Regions from separate parts of the Homo sapiens genome. Here region 1 is linked to region 2. The links are contacts of gene promoters, found by promoter capture Hi-C in blood cells and fetal thymus (Javierre and others, 2016). All regions are on one chromosome and are shown on one strand. The core of a region is centred on a gene start or on the middle of the fragment in contact, and the rest is flanking DNA. Distances in the headings are between cores, read along the strand shown.

The links. The method cuts DNA at HindIII sites, captures the fragments that hold promoters and counts their contacts. A CHiCAGO score of 5 or more calls a contact.
Region 1: the fragment with the promoter of KASH5 here is called in contact with a fragment that was not itself captured in region 2 in 1 of 17 cell types (total B cells); the score reaches 6.0 in total B cells.

Annotation. Positions count from the first base shown.
Region 1 is chr19:49,386,835-49,389,534 of GRCh38, reverse strand. KASH5 (KASH domain containing 5) reads right to left here and starts at 1,286. Exons shown (of 20, transcript NM_144688.5): 1 at 1,208-1,286. LOC101928295 (a long non-coding RNA gene) reads left to right here and starts at 1,454. Exons shown (of 3, transcript NR_110729.1): 1 at 1,454-2,179. The HindIII fragment of the contact is 10,613 bases long and covers 1-2,700 here.
Region 2 is chr19:49,205,845-49,208,592 of GRCh38, reverse strand. The region is part of intron 20 of TRPM4 (transient receptor potential cation channel subfamily M member 4); the gene reads right to left. Among named protein-coding and RNA genes, the nearest start is that of TRPM4, 49 kb to the right of the region's middle. The HindIII fragment of the contact is 201 bases long and covers 1,357-1,557 here.

The DNA.
Region 1 (2,700 bases), core at 37-2,536, 180 kb before region 2:
CCTTGGCTGGGCCCTGGCGCACGGAGTGGGTTCGGGATGGAGTCCTGAGGGACCCCGGGGGTGTTGGTTGATCTCGGGGGTCTGACGGGACTGAGACGGGGACACTGAAGCAGGATGGGGCCCTGGCAGGAGCTCTGGGTGGTGTGGGCCTTGGCGGGCTTTCAAGGGCTCTGACAGGATTTTGGGGGGGTCTCTGACTGGATTTCTGGGGAGTGTCTGGCTGGATTTTGGAGATTTTGATTTCTGTGGGGGTCTCTGACTGGATTTCAGGGGTCTCTGGCTGGATTTCGGGGGTCTTGATTTCTGCGGGGGTCTGATTGGATTTCTGGGGGTTCTCTGACTGGATTTTGGGGGTCTTGATTTATTCGGGGTCTCTGGATTTTGGGGGTCTTGATTTATGCGGGGGTCTCTGGATTTCTGGGGGTCTCTGGCTGGATTTTGGGGGTCTTGATTTCTGCAGGGGTCTGACTGGATTTCTGGGGGTCTCTGGCTGGATTTGGAGGGTCTTGATTTCTGCGGGGGTCTCTGAGTGCATTTCGGGGTCTCCGTTTCTGGGGTGTCTTTGATGGACTTCTGTGCTCTCTGACGGAATCTGAGGTCCGACTGGGTTTGGGAGGGGACCTGCCAGGATTTCTGGGGATCTCTGACACGAGTCTAGGTGGCTCTGCTGATCTGGGGAGAGTAATAGGATTTTGGGGAAAGTTTCTGGCAGGCTCTGAGGGAGAAGTCTGACAATTTCTAGACGATTCTGACAGGATTTCGGGGGTCAACTATAAGATTTCCTGGTGGACTCCTTTCAGTATATCTGAGGGGATGTGGTCAGGATTTTTTTTTTTTTTTTTGAGACGGAGTCTCACTCTTGTCACCCAGGCTGGAGTGCAGTGGCGCGATCTCAGCTCACTGCAACCTCTGCCTTCCAGGTTCAAGCAGTTCTCCTGCCCCAGCCTCCTGAGTAGCTGGGATTATAGGCGCGTGCCACTACGCCTGGCTAATTTTTTGTATTTTTAGTAGAGACGGGGTTTCACTTCCCCGGGATGGTCTCTATCTTCTGACCTCGTGATCCGCCCGCCTCGGCCTCCCAAGTGGTCAGGATCTGGGGGGCCCTGACGCAGGGGTATCTCTCCCACAATATGGGGGGGCTTCGCTAGGATTTCGGTAGGGGCTGGGAAGGGCCATTCTGGGAACCTCGCCGCGGGGCAGGGCGCACCTGGAGCCACGTCCTAGTCTCGGGACACAACGGACATCCACGAACGACGAACGGCAGTTGAGTTGGGGGAGGTGCGCGTGAGCTTTTCCCGCCAGAAAAAGCAAAAGGAGGCGAGGGGTCGCGAGTGCGCGTGCGCAGCGTCTGAGCCCCGCCCCTCCCCGCCCGGACTCCTCTTAAGACGCAGGTGCAAACCGGCGGCCGACGCGTGTCACGCATGCGCGCTGGCGGTGTGGGCTGTGGCCACGGAGTTTGTCTGGTGGTGGAAGGAGGGGGTGGCTGCGCCCGCCATGCTGGGGCTCGTGTTTTTCTCTTCCGCTTCAGGCTTTGGTGAAATGGGCTGAGGAAGGGGGAATTGAACTGAGAGACTCCTTGTCCGTCCCCCATTTCTTTCTTTTTTTTTTTTTTTTGAGATGGAGTCTCGCTCTGTCGCCCAGGCTGGAGTGCAGTGGGACAATTTTAGCTCACTGCAACCTCCGCCTCCCGGGTTCAAGCAATTCTCCTGCCTCAGCCTCCCGAGTAGCTGGGATTACATGCGCCCGCCACCACACCTGGCTAATTTTTGTATTTTTAGTAGAGACGGGGTTTCACCACGTTGGCCAGGCCGGTACCGAACTCCCAACCTCAGGCGATCCACCCGCCTCGGCCTCCCAAAGTGCTGGGATTACAGGCGTGAGACACAGCGCCTGGCCTGTCCTTTTTATGTATTGCCATATTTTCTTTTCTTTTCTTTTCTGTGAGATCCCTGTTGAGTTTTGTTAACAAGGCTATGCTGATATAATGTGTGGAGAAGTGTTCTCTCTTTTTCTATTCTTTGAAAGTGCTAGTGTAGGATTGATGTTATTTATTTTTTATGTGTTTGGAAGAAGTCACCAGCCATCTGGACCTAGAGTTTTCTTTGTGGAAAGACTTTAAATTACAAATTCTATTTCTTTTATAAAAATACAACTATTCAGATGTTCTATTTTATTTCTGGTAAGTTGTGGTTTTGGTAAGTTGTGGTTTTCAAGGAATTTTTCCATTTTATCTAAAATTTCAAATAATTTGCATAAAGTTCATAATATTGTCTTTTTTTGGAGGGGGAGAAACACGGTCTTATGTTAGGCTGGTCTCGAACTCCTGCCCTCAAATGATCCTCCTACCTTGGCCTCCCAAAGTGCTGGGGTTACTGGCATGAGCCACCATGCCCAATCTTTTTAATATCTGTAAGATCTGTGGTGACGGATATTAATAATTTGTGCCATCTCTCTTTTCCCCCCTCCCTTCCCCTCTGCTCCTCTCCTCCCCTTCCCCCACTCCCCTCCCCTCATCTCCCCTCCCCCGTACCTTCCCCTCCCCTCCCGCCTCCCTTCCCTTCTGCTCCTGTCCTCCCCTTCCCCCACTCCCCTCCCCTCATCTCCCCTCCCCCGTACCTTCCCCTCCCCTCCCCCTCTCTTCCCCTCTGCTCCTCTCCTCCCCCCACTTTCCTCCCCTCATCTCCCCTCCCACCTCCCTTC
Region 2 (2,748 bases), core at 208-2,707:
TGCTTTACAATCATAACCTAGGAAAAACCAAGCCATACAGAGATAGGAGCTGAAGGGGCATGATGAGAAGTGACCAGAAGACAGAGTGTGAGCCTTCTGTTATTCCTGGACAGGGCCACCAGAGGGCTCCTTGGTCTAGCGGTAACGCCAGCATCTGGGAAGATTCCCGTTACCAAGCGGACCGTGGTCTAGAGGTAGCGTCAGTGCCAAGGAAAAGCACCCACTACTTAGCAGACCGGGAAAGGGAGTCTCCCTTTCCCCGGGGGAGTTTAGAGAAGACTGCTCCACCACCTCTTGTGGAGGGCCTGACTGATGTCAGGCCCGCCCGCAGTTATCCAGGGGCCTAACCGTCTCCCTGTGATGCTGTGCTTCAGCGGTCACACTCCTGTTTCACTTTCATGTTCCACTCTGTACAGCTGGCTCTGCCCTCTAGATAGCAGTAGCAAAATTAGTGAAAGTATTAAAGTATTAAAGTCTTTGATCTTTCTTAAAAGAGCATAGAAGAAATAATGATGTAAGCTGTCCTCTCTCTCTCCGCCTTGGCTACCTAACAGGGAAGGGCCCCTGTCCAGTGGACATGTGACTCACGTGACCTTATCAATCATTGGAGATGACTCACACTCTTTACCCTGCCCCTTTTGCTTTGTATCCAATAAATAACAGCGCAGCCAGGCATTAGGGGCCACTGTCGGTCTCCACGTCTTGGTGGTAGTGGTCCCCCAGGCCCAGCTGTCTTTTCTTTGATCTCTTTGTCTTGTGTCTTCATTTCTACAATCTCTTGTCTCTGCACACGGGGAGAAAAACCCACAGACCTTGTAGGGCTGGCCCCTACAACCGTGTTAGCCAGGATGGTCTCGATCTCCTGACCTCATGATCTGCCCACCTCGGCCTCCCAAAGTGCTGGGATTGCAGGCTTGAGCCACCATGCATGGCTTTTTTTTTTTTTTTTTTTTTTTGAGACAAGGTTTCACTCTGTTGGTGGCACAATCATGATGGTGGTGAAATCATGGCTCACTGAAGCCACAGCCTTGACCTCCTGGGCTCAAGCCTTCCTCCCACCTCAGCCTCTTGAGTAGCTGGGACTACAGGCATGCACCACCACGCCTGGCAAATTTTTTATTTTTTTATTGAGATAAGGTCTCACTATGTTGCCCAGGTCGGTCTTGAACTCCTGGCCTCAAGTGATCCTCCCACTTTGGCTCCCTAAAGTATTGTGATTGCAGGCACAAGCCACCATGCATCATAATTTTTAAAAATCGTAAACTAGGAATAGAAATAAACTTTCTCAACATGAGAAAAGGTACTTCTGAAAAACCCACAGCTACCGTCATACCCAATGGTGAAAGAGTGAAAGCTTTCTGCCTAAGATCAGGGACAAGACAAGGATGTCCACTTTTACCACTGCTATTCCACATTGTGCTGGAAGTTCTGGCTAGAACAATTAAACAAGAAAAAAAATAAAAGGCATCCAAATTGGAAAGGAAGAAGTAAAAATATCTCTATTCACAGATGACATGATCCTATATATAGGAAATGCCAGAGAATCACAAGAAAGCTTCTAGGGCTGCAGATTCAGCAAAGTTGCAGGGTACAAGATCACACAAAAATCAGTTGTGTTTCTACACACCCGCAATGAACAATCCAAAAAGGAAATTAAGAAAGCAATTCCACTTACAACAGTATCTAAAGGTTAAGCACCTAGGAATAAAGTTAACCAAAAGGGTGAACAATTTGTAGCCTGAAAACTACCAAATACTGCTGGAAAAGCATTAAAAAGAACACCTAGATGAAATATCAATACTACCCGAAGCAATCTACAGATTCAACGCAATCCCTCGGAAAATTCCAACAACTGGCCGGGCGCGGTGGCTCACACCTGTAATCCCAGAACTTTGGGAGGCCAAGGCGGGTGGATCACCTGAGGTCGGGAGTTCGAGACCAGCCTGACCAACATGGAGAAACCCTGTCTCTACTAAAAATACAAAATTAGCCGGGCGTGGTGGCACATGCCTATAAGCCCAGCTACTCAGGAGGCTGAGGCAGGAGAATCGCTTGAGCCCGGGAGGCAGAGGTTGTGGTGAGCTGAGATCGCGCCATTGCACTCCAGCCTGGGCAACAAGAGTGAAACTCTGTCTCAAAAAAAAGAAAAAAAAAAAAGGAAAAAAAAAGAAAATTCCAACAACCTTTTTGACAGACATGGAAACTCTGATCTTTAAGTTCATATAGAATTGCAGGAGGCCCAGAATAGCCAAAACAATCTTGAAAAATAACAAAGGAGACTCATACTTCCAATGTCAAAATTTGCTACAAACCTACAGTAATCAACACTGTGTGGGCTAGACATGGTGGCTCACGCCTGTAATCCCAGCACCTTGGAAAGCCGAGGCAGATCACCTGAGGTCAGGAGTTCAAGACTAGCCTGGCCAACATGGTGAAACCCTGTCTCTACCAAAAATACAAAAAAATTAGCCGGGCGTGGTGGCAGGTGCCTGTAATCCCAGCTACTCAGGAGGCTGAGTTAGGAGAATCGTTTGAATCCAGGATGCGGATGTTGCAGTGAGCAGAGATCGTGCCACTGCAATCCCGCCTGGGTGACAAGAGCGAGACTCCGTCTCAAAAAAAACCCAAAAAACTGTGTGGTTCTGGCATAAGGATAGACGCAATCCAGTGGAATAGAATTGAAAGTCCAGAAATAAACTCATAAATCTATGAGTGTCATGCATTGAATTGTATCCCGCTAAAGATATG